Linked DNA regions of Homo sapiens: region 1 is linked to region 2. Evidence: promoter capture Hi-C in 16 types of primary human blood cells and fetal thymus (Javierre and others, 2016). All regions are on one chromosome and are shown on one strand. Each heading gives the region's core, a stretch centred on a gene start or on the middle of the fragment in contact. The rest is flanking DNA. Distances are from core to core; before and after follow the strand shown. Region 1 holds the start of YEATS2 (YEATS domain containing 2). Region 2 overlaps LAMP3 (lysosomal associated membrane protein 3).

Region 1 (5,858 bases), core at 1,016-3,515, 570 kb after region 2:
TCATTTTGGTGAATATTTGGGTAAACAGTTCAAAGTTGTAGTCTTATCAGAACTTTACCCTTCTTCCCCTTGACTTCCCAAGGCGGCCTACAGGATACAGGGGAAGCCTCAAGGCAGCGGTGGGAGGGGAGATCTGTGTGCGGGATTTCAAGCTATAGCCTGGGTTCTCACTGGCCTCTGCTGCTATGTCTCTGGTGACTTCTGGTCTCCACTGCCCTGCAGGCATCAGCTGCTGAGGTGGTTGGTTGGCAAGCTCATGACCTGTTGCTTTAGCACCTTCAGAGTTTGATGTCTCATCTTTCATCCCCACTCCTCCATCCCCGCTCCTCTCACCAGCTGACTTAGGGGTGCTTCAGCTCCACTGGTATCTTCAGTACTGCCTATCCTTGGGGTCTTAGCTACGTTCTGTAGCCATTCCCTGGCCATCAGCCCACCACAAGGCCTCTGCTTTAGGAAACCTGCCCCCTGGCACAGTGCCTATTGGTCTGTCCATGGCTCTTAACCATGCTACTTTCTGCATGCCAGGCAGGGAGCAACAAGAGAAGTCTGGAATTCTGACATACCTAAATGTGCAAGCTGCAGCGCTCCAGCAGCACTATTGCAGACTCCTCCCAACGCCATGGCCTGCTCCCAAGCCCTACTGTGTGAGCCTTCTCACAGACTTGGACAGCCTTCCAAGCTACACCAAGGGAAGTCAGCTTCTAGCTTTCTTGGCACTTATCTGGGTATTTCTATGCTTTCCACCTCACTGTTAAACCCTAAGAGTAGGGGAACACCAACACACTCATCCTGACCTGTGACCTCACCCCCTTCTCCATGAAATTTGTTTATCTCCCCAGTTCCTATTATCTCTTGAGTCTTAGCTTAAGGTTCAAGGAAGCCTTTCTTAGTTTTTTTTTTTTTTGAGATGGAGTTTCACTTTTGTTGCCCATGTTGGAGTGCAATGGCTCACTGCAACCTCCACCTCCCGAGTTCAAGTGACTGTCCTGCCTCAGCTTCCCAAGTAGTTAGGATTACAGGCATGCCCAAATACACCTGGCTAATTTTTGTATTTTTAGTAGAGACGGGGTTTCACCATGTTGGCCAGGTTGGTCTTGAACTCCTGACCTCAGGTGATCCGCCCGCCTCAGCCTCCCAAAGTGCTGGGATTACAGGCATGAGCCACCGTGCCCAGCCAGGAGGATCTCTCGAGCCCGGAAGTGTGAGACTAGCTGTGGTGATAGTGAGACCTGTCTAAAAAAACCAAAATTAGCCTGGGGGTGGTGGTTCACGCCTGTAATCCCAGCACTTTGGGAGGCTGAGGCGGGTGGATCACCTAAGGTCAGGAGTTCGAGAGCAGCCTGGCCAACATGGTGAAACCCTGTCTCTACTAAAAATACAAAAATCAGCCAGGCGTGGTGGCGCGCGCCTTGTAATCCCAGCTACTTGGGAGGCTGAGGCAGGAGAATCGCTTGAACCCGGGAGGCGGAGGCTGCAGTGAGCCAAGATCATGCCACTGCACTCCAGCCTGGCAACAGAGGGAGACTCTATCTCAAAAAAAAAAAAAAACACAAAAAACAAAACACCACTTATATTTATTATGCGTTGATAAAAACATTAAATACATTAAAAATTTGGTAACATGTATGTAAAGTATAAAAAAAAAAGTGAACTTCCTAAACCCACCACTCAGCTCCAGTAGTAAATCGTTATACAGTGAGAAGGGATTGAAGGGGAACAGAAGTTCCCCAAGACCAGTTGGGAGGCTATTCATAGTCTTGGGCAGAGAGATTACAGGGTCTTGGGTAGGGTGGTAGAGTTACAACGAAAGAGAATGTTGGCCTCAAGTGATATTTAGGTGGAAAACTGGACTTGGATTGTCACTAGCTAGTGTGACTGAGATAAGTCTCAAGCCTTCCCTGCCTCAGTTTCTTCATCTGTAAAATGGGCTAGAAATAACTACTGTTATTTTGTATACCCAGCACTTAGCACATGGGTTGGCACAAAGATGGCACACACAAACATCATAGTCACTATTGTGATTAATAGGGAAGCTCATACACGCCGGCAGAATGAATATTCTGTCAAACTTGGGGTTGAAATTCGCCATCTTCTGGGGCAGGAAAGTGATGGACGACTGTGCCTTTGCAAGAATCGACGCCCACACTGCCCAGGAAGTGCCCTCGCGGGCCGGGGTCCCAGCCCGGACCAGCCCCGCCCCGCCCCGCCCCGCCCTCATCCCTGGGAGCTCCGCCCCGAGGCCGCGCGCGCCGCCGCGCGCGCCCCGACGCGCCCAGCTGCTGACGTGCGGGGCGGAACGCGCCGGGCGGGCTCCACCGCGCCGTGTGCTTCCGCAGGTTGCGGGGGTCGCTGGGGCCTTGTGGCGGGGCAGCTCCGCGGGGCTTCGCCCGCTCTCTCACCTCGCCGTGCTCTCTCGCGGCGGCCGGCGGGGCCCGCGCTGCAGCCGGAGACCCGGAGAAAGGGTGAGTGTTGGCGGGCGCAGGAAGGGACCGGCCGGGAGCGCGCCCCGCTCTCCGGGGCATTGTTTGGGCGGGGGCGGCGCGGGCACGTGCGCGCCCCTCCCCCATCGGCAGGCAGCGCGGCAGCGGGACCCGGTGAGGCCCCGGGGCCGAGGGGAGGGCAGGGAGGATCCCAGGTGCGGGCCGGGGAGCCGCAGAAGCGGGAGCCTGGAATTGGAACGTGAGTTGGGGGCTTCCTCTTCAGCGGGGCGCTGCGCTGAGGGGATACGGGACCCCGAGCCACAGCGGCCGGAGCTTTTAGGATGTTAAGCTCTTGGCCTTGGAGGCAAGATTTGGCCCCAGCACCAGAAAGTCGTGGGTTTACCGAAAGGATCCTGGAATGCCCCTCCAACCTGTCGCCATCCCCACCGGGCCTCCCTGGGATGGAGGGGAGGGGTCAGAGAGGCTTTGGGGGTCCAGGGATGGGGCCGGGGCCAACGCGCCGGAGCTGCGGGCAGTGCGGGGCGGAGTGGAAGCCTCGGAAAGTGAGGACTCCTGCAGGAAAGGCTGGCTTGAAGGGCTGTGGCCAGACTGCAGAAGACAATGAGGTTTTCTCCATCATGAATGTGATTATGTTAAGAAATAGAAACCAGAGGAAGAGAAATGCCATCAGCAATCTTACAGGCCTGACACATCATTTTTTTTTAGTTTGATGTTGGCTAGTATTTTCATCTAAGCATTCAGCAGTTACAGAGTTGACCCACGTTTTCCATTCCCTTTTCTCGCTCACATGTAAAAAATGCGGTATAATATTATATAGAATTCAGCAATATCATTTCCCCTTTCTTAATGAGTAGAGGGTATTCAGCGTAGAAAAATTTAAAAATACAAGCAAAGCCAGAGAAAAATGCCCGCAGTTTTACGATCTAGAGATACTACCCTTGGATGTATATTCCTGTTTGTGTATACTCTTTAAAAGATAGGGCAGATGATGCCCTGATAAGGAGTTTAGTTTTTCCCGGGAAGCCTTTGAAGGTTTTGAGAAGGCGAGTAGCATGATCCGACTGCTATGTAGAGGAAGAGGGCTGGGGAGGAACCTACGAGGTCAGTTACTGTGCTCTTTGCAGTAGCTTGGACTAGGCCCGTGGCAGGGAGATGGGGAAGTATAAACAGATTTTTAAATGTTTTAAGGTAGAATGAACAAGACTTGGATTGGTGAGGGAATGGTGGGAATCTTTGCTTTTTTGATTTTTGTTTTGAGCAACTGAGTAGGTGGTGGTGCTGTTTACTGAGATGAAGAATGGAAGAGAGAAATTTGAGGTGGGAAAAACGAATTCTATTTTAGATGTATTAAATTTTAGATGCATGTTAGTTATGAAGTCGGTGTGTTGAGGCAGTTGGATGTAGAGGGCTGGAACTCAAGGAGGAGAGAGGCTAGAGCTAGAGATAAAAATCTGGGAGTGGCTGGGCGCGGTGCTCACACCTGAAATCCCAGCACTTTGAGAGACCGAGGCGGGTCGCTTGAGCCCAGATATTCTAGACCAGCCTTGGCTACAAGGCAGGAAGGACCCCGTCTCTTAAAAAAAAAAAAAATTGGGAGTGATCTGTACGTAGATGATATTCAAAGGTATGGTGCTGTGTGAGATCACTGAGGGGAAAGAGTGTGGAGAAGTGAAAAGGGCGCAGACACTCAAATACCTCTAGGTCTGGTAGAGGAAGAAGGTTGGGGAAAGGACGCAGGAAACAGCAAGTGAGGTAGGAGAAAAAGCTCCTACCAAAATGGCATGTATCATGGCAGCCAAAAGAGGTGTTTCTGGAAGATGTTGAATTGGTCCTTTTATCAGGGCTTCTGAGATGTTCATTAAGATTGTCAATTGAATTTGGCAACACGGTGGTTATTGGTTTTGGTCATTGGTCTTCCTGTCCATAGTTCTGGAAGTGGGAGGTGGGAACCGGATGTGAGGAAATGAAACTAATGAGTGCAAATTAGAAAAAAAGTGCCCCATTTCCATCTGCCCCAAAACTAAACTTAATCGATGAAAAATGGTGTCTTGTGTTTTTTTCATTTATTGATTACTAGTATGTTTGAACATTTTTTTCCCATTTATTGGCTGTTTGTGAATTTCTTTTCCTGTTCTCTGTCATCTTTTGTTATTTCCTAATTGATTGTCAAAAGTTCTTTAGATATTAAAAATAGGTAGCTTGACATACAGCATGCAGAGTTCTCCCCACATGTTTCTCAGTTTCAAATGCTTCATGTTCATTCAGTGGATGCATGATATTTTACTGTGGGTTATTTTTTATTATAAAATCCATAGGAAGAAGAGAATTAACATTTAGGTTGTAGATCTCTGAGTGTAGCCCACATACGATGTACATTACCCTGTATTTTCTTAGAATAGATTCTCAGAAATAGTTGGTCCTGTCCTCTTCTCATCAACTACGGATTTTTATTTGAATGTTCATTGCCACGTTCTTGGATTGTTCCCTATCTCCCTGCCTTTGGTCCTGCTCTGCTTTCAGTCTGTTTTCTGTCGTGATACCCAGTAGATGGTGGGAGTTGATGCAGTTTTCTCACAGAAAACAAGACTTGTGAAGCAGATTTTTTCTTTTTCTTTTCTTTTCTTTCTTTTTTTTTTTTTTTTTTGAGACAGAATCACAGTCTGTTGCCCAGGCCTGTAATCCCAGCTGCTCGGGAGGCTGAGGCAGGGGAATTGCTTGAACCCGGGAGGTGGAGGTTGCAGTGAACGGAGATCGCGCCACTGCACTCCAGCCTGGGCGACAGAGGGAGACTTCGTCTCAAAAAAAAAAAAAAAAAAAAAAGGCAGATACAAAAAGCCACGTGCTGTATGATTCTATTTATACGAAATGTCCAGAAACAGGCAAGTTTATCCACACAAAAAGTAGTTGCCAGGGGGATGAAGGGAGAGGAGAATTGAGAGTGACAATTAAGAGGTAAGTGGTTGCTTTTTGGAGTGATGAAAACATTATGGAATTAGATAGTGGTGATTTTTGTGCAACTTTGTGAATATACTGAAATCCACTGAATTGCACTCTTTTAACTGGTGTGTGTATATATATATGTGTGTGTGTGTGTGTGTGTATATATATATAAATTTTTTTTTTTTTTGAGAAGGAGTCTCGCTCTGTCGCCCAGGCTGGAGTGCAGTGGCGCAATCTCAGCTCTCTGCAAGCTCTGCCTCCCGGGTTCACGCCTTTTCCTGCCTCAGCCTCCTGGGTAGGTGGGACTACAGGCACCCACCACCTCGCCTGGCTAAGTTTTTTTGCTTTGTATTTTTATTAGAGACGGGGTTTCACCATGTTAGCCAGGATGATCTCGATCTCCTGACGTCGTGATCTGCCTGCCTTGGCCTCCCAGTGCTGGGATTACAGGCTTGAGCCACCGCGCCCGGCCGGTCA
Region 2 (5,818 bases), core at 679-3,178:
GAAATGAGATATAGATAAAGTGCTTAGCCTAGACTCTGGCACTTTGTTAATAATTAAGGGCCATTATTATTGTCTCTTGCTTATTGTTTAGTTCTACCATCTGTAGCCACCTAATTCTTAGTCTAGCGATTCTGGAGCAGGAGTCATCAAGATAAAAAATATAAGCTGATTTGTTCTTTTTGTTGGTTTTACATAAAAACACTTAGACAACCTGAGATATGTTGTTCTTTTTGATGATTAAAAAAAACATTTAAGGCCGGGCGCAATGGCTCATGCCTGTAATCCCAGCACTTTGGGAGGCTGAGGTGGGTGGATCACCTGAGGTCAAGAGTTCAAGACCAGTCTGGCCAACATGGTGAAACCCCGTCTATAATAAAAATACAAAAATTAGCCAGGCGTGGTAGTGTGTGCCTGTAATCCCAGCTACTCGGGAAGCTGAAGCAGGAGAATCACTTGAACCCGGGAGGCGGAGGTTGCCATAAGCCGAGATCGTGCCACTGTACTCCAGCCTGGGTGACAAGAGTGAAACTCCGTCTCAAAAAACAAAAACAAATTTAAAGTGGAAAAGGAGTTAAGTGCTACACCAGGAATATGTATGTTACATGAAACCATAAAACACAGATAGTAAAAGCACTGAAAGTCCATTTGATAACAAAGCAAAGGCTTTGTTAAGATCAAGGGTAAAATAAAATCTTCAATGCACACACAGTAGTATTAGTTACAATTGACCCTTGGTTTATAATTTGAAGGCTTATTCTACTTTACATATATTATGTTAATTCAACATATCTCAAATGTTGACTTTGAGTGGCTAAAATATTCTAAAGGAAACTAGAAAATAAACAGCTCACTATATCTTTCATAAAATAAACAAAAAGTATTTAGAAATTGATGTGCTGCCTGAACTTAAATCACACATGACTCACTTCATTTGAATAGAAGATGGTGGTTTACATTGTTTGAAGGACCCACACTCTGAGGGAATTTCCCAACATCCATCCTGGAAGGGATGAAAGAGTTCTCTAAATTCCATTATTTTCATTCCCCCCGGGCAACAATTAGATTCTCTGGTATCCAGATGATTGACACCTTAGGCGGATTTTATAGACACCCATACCCATAAGGCAGAGACCAACCACGATGGCCCCAATCACAGGAAGCACAATTGTGTAGTCAGACGAGCACTCATCCACTAAGAGAGAAAACAAATACAATACAGTGGGTAAGGTTTGGTGATGCAGTCCAGAAAGCAGGCTAGAGGGGAAAGAAGATGAGCTTTGGCATCAAACAAAGCTTGACTTTTAACTCCACCATTAACTAGCTTTGTGACCTTGGGCAGGTAATTTACCCTTGCAATTTCCTAATTTATAAAGTAAGCAAATAATATGTAAGACTGTCAGAAGATTAAATAACCATATTTTCTTAGTAATTAACATTCAATAATCATAATCCTTATTTCCTGAACTGAGTAAGAAGTCACTCCAGGCATACTCCCTGCTAAGTGGGATATGCTTACATAAAAGAGACCAGCCGGGCACAGTGGCTCACGCCTGTAATCCCAGCACTTTGGGAGGCCGAGGCGGGCGGATCATCTGATGTCGTGAGTTTGAGACCAGCCTGACCAACATGGAGAAACCCCATCTCTACTAAGAATACAAAATTAGCCGGGCGTGGTGGCACATGCCTGTAATCCCAGCTACTCGGGAGGCTGAGGCAGGAGAATTGCTTGAACCCGGGAGGCAGAGGTTGCGGTGAGCCGAGATCACACCATTGCACTCCAGCCTGGGCAACAAGAGCGAAACTCCATCTCAAAAACAAACAAACAAACAAACAAAAAACATTTGTGTGACCAGTGACCAGATTACAGATGATCTCTTGAGAAACATGATTTTTATCCACTTTATAAAACATTTTTGTCACTCCTAAGGTTCTATTGTATTACTTTTAGCTAATATTAGAAAACAGACCAAATTATTTATGAGAGCTTAAAAGTGAGAGTTTACAAACTTATCAAGACTGTTTTTTCTTTATACCATTAGAAAACGCTTACTCAATTCATTTAATGTAATTGATTGGGTCAGAGACTAATAAATCTCAACCGAGGAAAGACGGAGGGGTCTGGGGTAAAAGGGGAAGTTGATAGAATACTCTAATGAAGAGACTGGGAGAAAAGAGCAAATAAATGAAGAACCATGTCTTAGTCATTATAGCTAAAAAGATACATGTGTGAGGTCATTGTACGAACTAACACTGAAATTATGTCCTGAACCAAGGATCACCATCAACCCAATTCAGTGTACCTGAGATCTGAGAAAAAAAGTATCAGAAGAGGTCAGAGAAGACAGAGTGGCAATTAATTAAAGATTCCAGGAAAAAGAAAATTTGGACAAGAAAGAAACTGTGATTGTAGTACACGATTTGGCTTGACAGCAGACAATATTTATAAAACTATAATAATGTGTGCCTTAATACCTTACTGATTTACCCAAAAATAGTTGTGTAACCACAAATCTTTATGTGCTATAGCAGGAAGTCTAAAATGGATCAATTAGGAACTATCATGATAAGCTTTTATTTTTTAGAGTTATGGAGATAGCAATCAGAAGAAATTGTTAAAATTAGTTAAAAGTATCTTGTATCTTGGGGCAGGGAGGCAGAGGGACAGAGAAATGTTGCTTTCCATGATAAGACCTTTTGGAGTACATGAAACTTTGTTACTTATATATGTTTCTCTTTTTTTGCAGCCTGGAACTCCTGACTTCAAGCCATCCTCCCACCTCATCCTCTTGGGACTAGGGGTGTGTGCTACCATGCTGGGCCAATTTTTTATTTTTTACAGATGGGGTCTTGCTATGTGGCCCAGGCTGGTTTCAAACTCCTGGGCTGAAGCAATCCTTGACTTCCCAAAGTGCTGGGATTACAGGCGTGAGCCACCACACTTGGCCTATATTTCTTAAACGAAAAAAGAACTTTGACAAGTTAAGGAATTAAAATGAGTGGGAAAAAATACAAAAAGTTAAAACAAAATGTAATGCACACACCTGTTGACCCAATAATTCTATCTCTAGGAAATTATCCCAAAGATATATTCATACACTATGCAAAGGTATATTACAGCACTGTCCATTTTATGAGACAATTTAAATATACGTAAAAACTAAAATAGTATTCAGACAATAGAAAATAATATAGCCATTAAAAAGAACGTGGTAGGTCTCGGTGTTCTGTAACAGAAGTTCCTTAAGCTCCGTGAAGTATCATGTGAACCCAAACCCATGTGCTTGTGGGTCCAGTGTGAAAAGATACACCAAAAACTGGCAGGAGGACTGGGAAGGAAGTGGAGGGCAACTTTTACTCTCTCTTGTTAAGCTATTAAATTATTTAACATTGTTTAAACATTTCTAAAATGCAAAAGAGTACACAAAGAAAAGAAGTGACTGATCCAATCACCCCATTTCTTCTATTTGAATCAATCACTATAAACCTTTTTGGGCATGTAGTTCCTCTGTGAATGTGTGTGTGTGTGTGTGTGTGTGTGTGTGCACACGTGTGCATGTGTGCAAACTCACGTGCATGCTTAAAGCAAAATCACTCTATTTTAAATAGTCTATTCTCATTATAAATAACTAAAATAATAGAGAAAAAGCACAAACAAAAAAGTAAAACCAATTACCCCAAGACCATCCACCAAGAAATGTCATTGCTAATATGGAGAAACATTATTTCAGGCCTCTTTCTTTAGAACTACAAGGATAGATAGGTTAGAAAAATAAATAGAAATACTTTTATTAAGATAGGATCATACAAGTACTATTTTATTACATTTGTTAATTTCAATTTTACTTGTGTTTAATAGGATAAAAGAACTTGAAGGAATTATCACAAACCAATGTTTCTTTGTCATGGGAAATATTGGTTCATAAAGGGTCCCTTTAGAGTTCTAAAAAGAGATTATGAAGTATGCATTAAACAATTATGAAATACATTAAGAGGTTATGAAATAAATTGGACTTGTGTTTACTAAACTTCGTTTCCAGTTTAAACATTATCTATTGATACTGTTTTGAAAGAGTAGCACTAACAGAGTCCCTTCCATCTCCCCTCTCTTCAACTCCCCCAATTTTTTTTTTGAGACAGGGTCTTGCTCTGTTGCCCAGGCTGGGGGGCAGTGGTGCGATCATAGCTCACTGAAGCCTCCAGCTCCTGAGGTCAGCCATCCTCCCACCTCAGCTTCTCAAGTAGCTAGTAGTACAGGCAAATGCCACCCCACTCAGCTACTTTTTAACTTTTTTGAAGAGATGGGGTCCTTACTATGTTGCTCAGGCTGGTCTTGAACTCCTGGCCTCAAGTGATCCTCCAACCTCGGCCTCCCAAAGTTTCAGGTGTGAGACACTGTGCCCAGACAACTCCAAATTTTGAATAGTTATGTCACTGTTTTTAACATTGTCTATGTTTTTTTTTTCTTTTTTAAAAAGTAAACTGATTTTATTGTGAAATTCTCATAGATGGAAAATTAAATCAAACATTTATTCTGTCCATTTCATTTTATAATAACCTTATCACTGATTTTTGTACCATGCATTTCAATGGCCTGTTAAATGAAAAATGTTTTAAAAACTTTTAATTTTTGATGTTTTTAGCTTAAATTTTTTCATTAAGAAGCCCACAGTGCCAGCAGCCGCCCCCCAAGCCCTGTGTGAACAACGTTTTGGTTGCTATTTCAACTTAAGGAAACAATCTTTGACCTTGATCCATTGTCCAGGTTTATGACACTTCAATTCTATTTGATAACTATCATTCCTGTAGTCTTTAAAATGTGTTCTGACTGGCTGGGCACGGTGGCTCACGCCTGTAATCCCAGCACTTTGGGAGGCTGAGGCAGGTGGATCTCAAGGTCAGGAGATCGAGACCATTCTGGCTAACACAGTGAAACCCCGTCTCTACTAAAAATATGAAAAATAAAATAAAATAAAAAAATAACCAGTTGTGGTGGCAGGCGCCTGTAGTCCCAGTTACTTGGGAGGCTGAGGCAGGAGAATGGCATGAACCTGGGAGGCGGAGCTTGCAATGAGCCGAGATCACGCCACTGCACTCCAGCGTGGGAGACAGAGCGACACTCCATCTCAAAAAAAAAAAAAAAAGTGTTCTGACGATTTAACACTGTCATATGATTTGAAAAGTCAAAATAATACAAGATGCTGTGCATTGAGAAGTTTCACTTCCACCCTTGCCCCTTCCTCTTAGTTCTCCCTGTCCCCATTAGATGATTCCTTTCCTTAGTTCTTGTTTATATTTCTGATGTTTCTTTGTGCAGCTAGAACAATAATGAATATACTATTATGCACTATGATTTTTTGATATAACATATTTTGGAACTCTTTCCTTAAACATACATAGCATCCTCATTCTTCTTGTAGCTGTATAGGATTCCATTGTGGGATGAATCACAGTTTTAAAATCTGGCCCCTATTGATGGACCCTTGGCTTGTTTTCATTTTTTTGCTATTATAAATAATGTTGTAATGAATAACCACGTACAAATATCATTTCATATATGTGAAGGTGTGTTTGTGTTCCCAGGCCCATAATTGTTTAGTATGTTTTATATATAAATGGATCAACATCCTCCCATCTCAGCCTTCCAAGTAGTTTGGGACTACAGTCATGTGCCACCACACCCAGCTAATTTTTGTATTTTTTGTAGAGATGGGGTTTCGCCATGTTGCCCAGGCTGGTCTTAAACTCCTGGGCTCAAGCAATCCTCCTGCCTCAGCCTCCCAAAGAGTTGGGATGATAGGTGTGAGCCACTAGGCCAGGC

The links. The method cuts DNA at HindIII sites, captures the fragments that hold promoters and counts their contacts. A CHiCAGO score of 5 or more calls a contact.
Region 1: a contact is called between the fragment with the promoter of YEATS2 here and a fragment that was not itself captured in region 2, in 1 of 17 cell types (erythroblasts). The highest score is 5.9, in erythroblasts.

What each region holds. Positions count from the first base shown.
Region 1 is chr3:183,695,532-183,701,389 of GRCh38, forward strand. YEATS2 (YEATS domain containing 2) reads left to right here and starts at 2,266. Exons shown (of 31, transcript NM_018023.5): 1 at 2,266-2,462. RefSeq lists a silencer at 2,171-2,640. The HindIII fragment of the contact is 10,471 bases long and covers 1-5,858 here.
Region 2 is chr3:183,123,023-183,128,840 of GRCh38, forward strand. LAMP3 (lysosomal associated membrane protein 3) reads right to left here. Exons shown (of 6, transcript NM_014398.4): 6 at 1-1,192. The coding sequence ends at 1,059. Among named protein-coding and RNA genes, the nearest start is that of MCCC1, 26 kb to the left of the region's middle. The HindIII fragment of the contact is 1,275 bases long and covers 1,292-2,566 here.